Regions from separate parts of the Homo sapiens genome. Here all the other regions are linked to region 2. The links are contacts of gene promoters, found by promoter capture Hi-C in blood cells and fetal thymus (Javierre and others, 2016). All regions are on one chromosome and are shown on one strand. Each heading gives the region's core, a stretch centred on a gene start or on the middle of the fragment in contact. The rest is flanking DNA. Distances are from core to core; before and after follow the strand shown. Region 1 overlaps LOC101928009 (a long non-coding RNA gene). Region 2 holds the start of IVL (involucrin). Region 3 has its middle 5.5 kb from the start of LELP1.

What was found. Contacts are between HindIII fragments. The CHiCAGO score rates a contact against its expected background, and 5 or more counts as called.
Region 1: a contact is called between a fragment that was not itself captured here and the fragment with the promoter of IVL in region 2, in 10 of 17 cell types (endothelial precursors, M2 macrophages, M1 macrophages and 7 more). The highest score is 13.4, in endothelial precursors.
Region 3: a fragment that was not itself captured here is called in contact with the fragment with the promoter of IVL in region 2 in 10 of 17 cell types (M2 macrophages, endothelial precursors, M1 macrophages and 7 more); the score reaches 11.2 in M2 macrophages.

Annotation. Positions count from the first base shown.
Region 1 is chr1:153,178,244-153,181,232 of GRCh38, reverse strand. The region is part of intron 2 of LOC101928009 (a long non-coding RNA gene); the gene reads right to left. It also overlaps a transcript of SPRR2G not described here. Among named protein-coding and RNA genes, the nearest start is that of LELP1, 24 kb to the left of the region's middle. The HindIII fragment of the contact is 461 bases long and covers 1,076-1,536 here.
Region 2 is chr1:152,907,275-152,910,150 of GRCh38, reverse strand. IVL (involucrin) reads right to left here and starts at 1,605. Exons shown (of 2, transcript NM_005547.4): 1 at 1,562-1,605; 2 at 1-372. The coding sequence starts at 353. RefSeq lists silencers at 365-1,565, 1,938-1,990, promoters at 1,611-1,845, 1,565-2,504, 365-2,876, enhancers at 1,725-2,004, 2,838-2,876 and a cis regulatory region at 1,759-2,255. The HindIII fragment of the contact is 6,184 bases long and covers 1-2,876 here.
Region 3 is chr1:153,196,549-153,199,343 of GRCh38, reverse strand. It overlaps a transcript of SPRR2G not described here. Among named protein-coding and RNA genes, the nearest start is that of LELP1, 5.5 kb to the left of the region's middle. The HindIII fragment of the contact is 1,093 bases long and covers 997-2,089 here.

The sequences.
Region 1 (2,989 bases), core at 57-2,556, 270 kb before region 2:
TAAACTCTGGGAGAATGTCTTCAGATCTTGTCAATAGGAAAGATTCCTTAATCAGGTAATAAAAAGCATACCAATAAGGTGGAAAAATGACAAATTGGATTTCATTAAAATTAAAAATTTCTGATTATCAAAAACACCACCAAGATTGCAAAATGCCAAGCCACAGAGATGGAGAAGCTGTATGTAATATCTATATTTAACAAAGGGCTTGTTCCCAGAACATATATACACATGTGTTCCTACTCACAGATCAACAAAAAAACAAGAAATGAGCAAATAGAAAAATATCTGAACAACCTGAACAGGCAATTCATGAAAGGGCATTTCTGTATTTCCAATAAACATATAATAAAGAGTTTAATCTCACCATTCATAAGAGAAATGCAAATTCAAGTCACAACGTGTTATCTCCACATAGCCACCGAAATGGCTAACACGAAAAAAGATAGACAATACCAAGTTTAGACAGAGTGTGGAGCAATTGAAACTTTCACACACTGCTGATGGGAATAATAGATGGTAGAAAGAATTTGGAAAAGTTAACAGTATTCACTAGAGCTGAGCATATCCCTATCCTCTGACCCAGTCATTATATTTTCCTAGGTATGTACCTAACAGAAGTGTGTACATATAGTCACAAAAGGACAAATACGTAAATATTCACATTAGCACTATTTTTAAAAATTCCAAATTGGAAACTACTAAAATACCTTTTAGCAATAAAATGGATGCATAAATGGTAGTATATTCTCATAGAGAAATACCATACAGCAATGAGAATCAACGATCTATATCTACAAACCAGAAAATGAATCAGTATCACAAACACAATTTTGGGGAAAAAAAATCCAGGCACCAAAGAGTTCATACTGTATGATTCCCTTTATATACAGTTCAGAACATGAAGAACAAATGTACAGTGTTAGATGCCAGGAAAAAGTTAATGTTTGGGGGCTGGTAGTGACTCGGACTGCTTTTGAGAACCTGCTTCCCAGGTGGACTGCTTCTGAGATGCTGGTAACATGTTATTTCTTCATTTGTGCATTGGTTGCATGGTTGTTTAGCTTATGAAGCTTTATTAAGTTGTATACCTGTACTTGGTGAGCTTTTATTAATTTATACTTCAATTTTAGTCAGTTAAAAGGTTACTTTAAAGGGAAGGAAGCCACCAGAATGCCAATATTCCTGCAACTTAGTGAACAAGGAAAGAAAGATATGATGAAGTCAGCATAAGAGTCAGTGCCACAGCATGAAGTGCTTTGTAGGACAGTAAGGTCTTCAGACTTTTCTCTAGATACAATGGCAAGATATTTGATCATTTCAATTAGGGAGGACATAATCTTCTCTATATTTTATATGATTGCTGTGGTTGTTCTGATATGGGATTGCTGTGGCACAAGATAGGAATACGGAGACAAGATAGAAATCAGGACACAAGATAGGAAACTTCTGCAGTGGTTCAGGTGAGGGTGATGGTGGCTCTAATTAGGGTAAGAACATTGAAGATAATGAGAAGATGAGAAGTGATAATAAGCTTAAGGCAGAACTTGGGATCTAGGAAGAAGTAGTATGTGGGAGGTGAGGAAAAGAGGAATAAGAGATGAATCCTAGGTCTTAAAAATTATTATTATGACTACTATCATTATTTCAAACATTATTATCCTTATTTAGTTTGTGGCATGAGTACCTTCACACACACGATGATATTGTATATTTAAAAATGAAACCATTTCACAAATGATAGGCGTGACATTGTTATATTTAAAATGAGTGGATATTATAAACAACTTCATATTGAATTCTACAACTTAGATGAAAAGCACAAATTCCTTGAAAATAAAAAACTAACACATAAATGAAAACTTGACAGCCCTGTGATGGTCTTTTGACGTGTCAGCTTGGCTGCATGACAGTCCCTAGTTACTCAATCAAATACTAATCTAGGTGTTGCTGTGAAGGTAGATGTGATTAAAGTCCATTATGAATTGACTCTAAGTAAGGGAGAAAATCCTAGTTTATACAGGCTGGTCTGATTCAATCAGTTGAAAGGCTTTAAAAGCCAAGCTAAATCTTCCCTGAAGAAATTATATGTGTGGATTACAGCTTCAGCCTATGACAGAGTTCCAGCTTACCCTCTTGATGTCCTGACTTCTGGATTTTAGACTTGCCTAGCTGCCTTTGCAATCACATAAATTGAGTCCTTGTAGTAAATCTCTGAAGTACATTTCCAACTGGTTCTGTTCCTCTCATTGTACCCTGACTGAGACAATCTCTAAAATTATTACAGAAATAAAACCCATAGTTTAAAACCTTCCCATATAGAATGCCCCAGGTCCAAAAGGATTAACTGGTGAATTATACCACACACTTAAGAAATAAAAATTTCAATCATACATAATTTCTTTCATAAAACAGAGAAAGAGGGAATATTCACCAAGTCTTTTTCAGGTTAACGTAGCCCTGATATTGAAACTTGACAAGGACATTAAATGAAAAGAAAGTTACAGATCGTTATTCCTCAGGAGCATAGAAGCAAAAATCCTTAAGAAAATATCAGTAAATTGAGTCTAGCAATATATTAAGAGGATTTGTCACAGAATGCAAGGTTTATTTAATATTATAAATGTAATTCACCAAATTAACTGAATAAAGGAAGAAATTATATCATCTGAATAGATGTAGAGAAAGCATTTGACAAAATTCAACATGCATTGAGGATAAAACTCTTGCAAACTAGGAATAGAAAGAAATTTTCTCTATGCGATGAAGGTCATCTATGAAAAGCCTTGGCTAACATTATATTAATTGTGAAATATTTTTCCCCTAATATCAGAAACAAGGCAAGTATATCCCAATTTACTACTTCTATTCTAACATTTCCTGGAAGTTCCAGCCAGTGCAATAAGGTAAGAAAAATAAGTACAAGCATGGATTGGAAAGAAGAAGCACAAATGTCTTTACTCACAAATGGCATAATTGCCCATGCAGA
Region 2 (2,876 bases), core at 356-2,855:
TGCTGATCCCTTTGTGTTTTCTCCTGCTTAAGCTGCTGCTCTGGGTTTTCTGCTTTCTGATATTCCTCATGCTGTTCCCAGTGCTGTTGCTGCAGCTCCTGCTCCTGTGGCTCCTTCTGCTGTTGCTCACATTCTTGCTCAGGCAGTCCCTTTACAGCAGTCATGTGCTTTTCCTCTTGCTTTGATGGGACCTCCACTGGGAGCTCGACAGGCACCTTCTGGCATGGGGGAGGCAGTGGAGTTGGCTGTTTCATTTGCTCCTGATGGGTATTGACTGGAGGAGGAACAGTCTTGAGGAGCTCCTGACTGAGGGCAGGGGAGAGGGTCACTGGCAGTGTGTGTTGCTGGGACATCTTAGAAGCTACTGTCAACCTGAAAGACAGAAGAGGTCTGATGCACAGGCTGAAGGCAAAGGAAATAGATGAAACCTTGGGAATCTGCAGAAGTATCTGGTTTTTTAGCATCCCCTCTTCCCTTGGGCAGGGTACTGTTCTACCACCTCTGGACTATCATTTCCCAAAAGCAGCAGAGAGAGAAGGGTGGAAATGTGGAGGGGCAGAGAAAGGTCCTCCTAGGAGCCTCCTTGTTCCCAGGTGAGAGCCAACAAGGAGATCTGTCTGCAGGGCTGTTCTGCAAGGGTGGGTCAGGTGCCAGCTCACTGTCTGCTCTTGTCTAGTCCTTGTGTCCACCCTCATCGCTTCACTGACCAAGGAGCAGAGATGCGTTCTGGGATTATGTCACAGTGAGGAGTAAGGCCTTAGGGAATGAAATGTCTCTTGGAGAACACCAAGTCCTAGAAAACCAATAGGCCGTGCCAGAGAGGACCTAAGAGGTCATGGTGTGACCTCCAGACTGGAGCCACAGGACATGCTCTAGGCCTGAATCTCCCATTGGAATGCTGTGTGTTTCTGGGCATGTCACTTAGTCTCCTGGGATTTGGTTTTCCCCCCTGTAAAGCCAGCAGGTTGGCCTATTCAACCCCAGGGCTGCTTTCTCTCCTGACCTTCTGAGGTTTAGCTGCAGTCCTTGTGTCTGGGGTGGGGCTGCGGGAGCTGGAAGGTTGCTGAGAGTTGGAGGTTGTTCTTCCAAGTCTTATACTTCTAAGTTGAGTTTTCCTGTCCCAGCTCTGCCTAGGTTTCTCCAAATAGAAAGGTTTCCCCATTCTGCCATCCCTCTGTGCAGCATAGCCAAAAGGTAGAAGCTCTTCCCTGAACCTCTCCCTCCATAAAGAAGGCAAAATGATGGTCTGTCAAAACCCAAGAGGTTTAGGAAAGAAGTTGAATGCTATTCCCCTCCTCCCTTCCATAATTCTCTCTCACACACAAATCCAAAAATATGGTCACAAGAAAAGATGGGACATAGGATGATTACTCTCTGTTCTGCACTTCTGTGCCAAGGCACTTTTCTCTCAGTACTCTGACTCGAGTCCCCCTAGAATGAAAGTCCAGCTGAATCCAGCCCCAGAGTAATGCCCACCCCCACCCAGGCTGCCCACCCCCACCACATCGTATGCTGTTGGAGGTCCCGAGTCCCAACCCTGGTTCTACCATCCGACACTTACCAGACTCACAGTAAGGCTGAGGCAGAGGCTTTGGTGGAGTGCTGAGCTGAGCAGGAGTCAGGGCACTCTTTATATCATTCTGCAGCCTGGCCTCCCTCCAGGTTGAAGGTGATGGACAGGTTTCACCACTCTAGTTGGTCAACTTCCTCTAACCCCTTCCTGACTCACCACAGGCATCTTAAGCAGCAAACCCTTTAGGGCCCCATTTCCCAGGGACACACAGCTCCTGCCTGGCCAGAGGATTCTGGTAGCTCAACTATTCCTGTGATGCTTTTCTGACCTAGGCACAGGGAGCTGAGTGAGGCATCCTACTGTTTTGTGACCTTAGTCAAACTTCTGCTCTGAATCTCAATTTTTCCACTTTCAAAATGAGTTTGTTCTCATTATTAGGCCAAAAGATTCACTTTCAAGGGCATGAAATGGAAAGTTATGTGTCTTTCGGGGATGTCCAGGCTGGGTTATATGTTTGAAGATAGAGTCACTTCCCATGAAGGGGTGGTATTTCTGGGGTGTTCTCTTGGGCCACAAGCCCTTCCTCTCTCAGAATATATTTTTTAACTCCATCCTATGTGGAAATAAACTCTGTCTTTGGTGGAGGGAGTTTGACTTTAGGCCAAGTAGAGTCAAGTAGAAGGCTTCTAGGAGTCCTCTGCTGCTGCCACTTGCTGCCCAGCCTCTATGCCCGAGGCTGCAGTTAGAGAAGTTCTCAGGAATGCCATGCTCATAAGAACTCCAAAGCACGGCCCACTCTAGGCAAGGAAACAAGATTGAATCTACACAATATAAAAATAAGTATTGCTTTTTATAATGACAAACCAAACTACTTTCTTAAGTACTTTTTTAAATGCATGAAGGTATAAAGATCAGAATCAAATCATCCATTTCCTGTTGTAAATCATACTCTAGAAATAGCTTAAGAAATCTTTCAGAGTGGGGATTTGAGCACATCTCTCCCCCGTGCCAACAGTGCACCAGCACACTTGAAATAACATTCAAACTCACTGCCGTGGTTTAAAAGACCCTGGGTACCTGGCTTCTGCCTTCTTCTGGGGCCCCAATTCATGTCAATCTCTCCCTGAGAGGTATATTCTTACCTCACTGAGGGCCTTCGGTTCCTGAGATGAGCCCAGAGCTCTCCACCTGGGGGCTTGGCACCTGCTCTCCTTCTGCCCACCGGCCCCTCCCCAGGTCTCTGGTTCTTTTATGCCTTTCAGCTTCAGTGTCAATGTTGGGGTCTGTCAGAGATCCTTCTCTGTGTACCATATCTAAAGGATTGGTACTTAATTTCACTTATAACAATCTAGAGTAATTTATT
Region 3 (2,795 bases), core at 294-2,793, 290 kb before region 2:
CTGTGCATGGCTCCTGTAGCGCCTAGGCATTGGCAAGCTCTCCTACAGCTTCTCTTGGCTGGTATTCCTCATCTTCACCTCTTGGACAGGATTTTAGACCACCTGGACAGCCAGTTTTCCCTCCCTTATGGCTCATATCTGGCCCATGGGAACCAGATATACATCCTCCCCTTTCACTGTTTATCAATCACCATTGCGTAAGTTTTTCTTGATATTTGTGTATTTTTGCTCATTCATTATATAAAGGGGGAAGAATGTTCTACGAAATCCTCATGGACATGGTTCAGGGTTTATCCTATTTGACTTTACTGCAGTAATTGTTACAGTTGTGTCCTATATTTTAACCCTCTTCCCTTTTGGTCCTCTGTGACATGGGTAGACTCCCACTTACAGCCTCATCTACTCTCCTTCCCGAGCCCTTTCTCCTCTGTTGAATCCTTTCAACATCACCTGCACCTTCATTTTTCACCCTTGCTGCTGATATTATTATCCACCATTGCTGAAAGTACCAGCTCTGCATAGAGAATCCCAAAGCCCACCCTCTTCCCTGAGCTTTAGGTCCCAATACTAACATCCATTGGATGTACTTTGGTACCTCAAGCTGATTTTACAAAATCAGAGTTCAACACCTTCCACATTTTTCCTAACATGCCCCTCTTGCTCCTCTTATGCGCTCCGACTCTGTGAATAGCATCCTGTCCACCAAGACTTAACAAGAAACCTGGGATCATCCCAGACTCTTGCTTCCTACTCAACCTCACACCAAATGTGCTATCAGGATCTGCAGATTCTACCTCCTGAGCCACAGGCTTCTAAGCCAGGGTGTGTTTGGGAGCTGCAGGCACATTTCTCTCAAGTTGGTCCCCCATTCTCTCACAGCCATGGTTGCTGCCTTTATTGTGGCATCATCATCACAGGTCTCCCTGTCTCCAAAGAGTCTCACCACTAATTCAACCCCCACAGCATTGCCGAAGTGAATTTTATAAAACAAAAGCTTAATTTTACTATTGAATTTAAGATGAGGCCCAAGGCTCTTGGTTGGGTCAACAAAACTCTTACTAATCTGGTGTCTACTTTCAGCTCGGTCTTCTACTTTTACCGTAGATTCTGGGGTAAAGCTACTTGCAGTTTCCAAAATATGCTAGACTTTTTTTATTTTTTTAAACTCCGAGTTTTTGCTCTGCCAGCCGAGTCCTCCCTCTCTCCTCCTCAACCTTGAACTCATAGGAAATTCTCCTTGGGCATGATTTCTCTCACCTTCCCAGGCAGTTAGTTGCCTTAGCCAAGCTCATTCTGAAATTTTTATCCCCATATTTTGTAGTTATTTACTTCCTGATCTACTCTCTCACATGATGTAGTGTAGAGATCAGGAACCAATTACTTTTTAAAATCTCTGTTTCTGCAGTGTCCAGTGTGTGTCTTGGCACATGTTGGCCAGGCAATAGTTAATGCTTCTTGTCAATAAGGAGATGGAATAATATTTCAATGGTTTCGCAATTGCTTTTCTCTCTAACTGGAGTATCCCCCTCCTTTTTGCCTTATTGATATTTATTTTTTATCTTCTATATACAATTTGAAAATTCCACCTTCCATGTGGACTGCTCTGGACCCCCACCCTGCTGCAGTTAAGAGATACCATCTCTGAACATGCCTGATGTGCTCCCCATGGATTGACTCCCCACCTGTTCTGCCGGGGGGCAATGCTGTCTTCTGTCTCATACAGTGCCCTAATCCAGGAAAGGGCTTTCTTATTATTCTTTGCATCTTTAGTGCTGGGCCAGGGCCTGACATATAATAGATGCTCAGTGAATATTTGGGAAATAAATGAATGGATATACAAGACAAAGTTCAGCAGGGGAGATAAGAATCAAATAAACTGTCTGTCAGAGGAGGGAGATCCAACTTTATGGAGATGGAGATCTGTTTCTCAGGGTCAGCTTCCAACATGAATATATCTGTATGAGGCCCAGAGATTCCAGGAGGCAGGTACCGCTGGGCTGTGTAGGCTGAAAATCCCAGATCTTGTTGGATTTGTCCAGGATACAGCCGCCATCTGATCCAGGCTCCCAAGCAGAGATGGACTCAAGCTTCAGCGAGTGTCCATCTCCCCTTCCCTGCAGCTAGGGTTTATCTTGCCCTGCACCTCCTCTTCATCCTCCAACATACACACACACACACACACACACACACACACACACACACACACACACATTCTCTGCCTGGTGAGACCCACTTCAGGAGAACTGGGGAGGACACAGGATGGAGTGGACTTGGCAGGGAGGTAGCTGGGCCAGGCACGGTAGGGAAGGATCCTGTGGGTAAATGGGAGTCATTCTCTTGAGTGAAGCTCTACCGGACTCCTCTGTGGAGTCCACATTTTACCTGAGGGCTCCTCCTAAGGTGCCCACCAGGCTTCTGTTTCCTTTTTCCTCCTGTGACACCATCACCTTCCCAGCTACAAGCAAGGGCAATAAACTGGGGGCCCACTGGGGCAGATGTCTTAATGGAGAGAGCAGAGATGAAGAGAAAATCCCTCAGCAGGTTGAGAGTGACTTCTGCAGGCTCAGGGCACAAAGCGAGATCTCTTTGCACAGGTAAGGAAGGCAGTGAAAAGCAGAGACCCATTTCCTTCACTGAGTGTGGGATCACAAAGTCAGGAAATTTGGGGGACATTTTCAGATGATTTGAAGTAGTTCTTGTCAATTTCTTAACCAGCTTTACAAGGTCTTCATATTTTTTAATAAAGTGGGAGGCAGCACTGTGTTTCCCTAATGATCTTCTTTTGCCACAGGAGG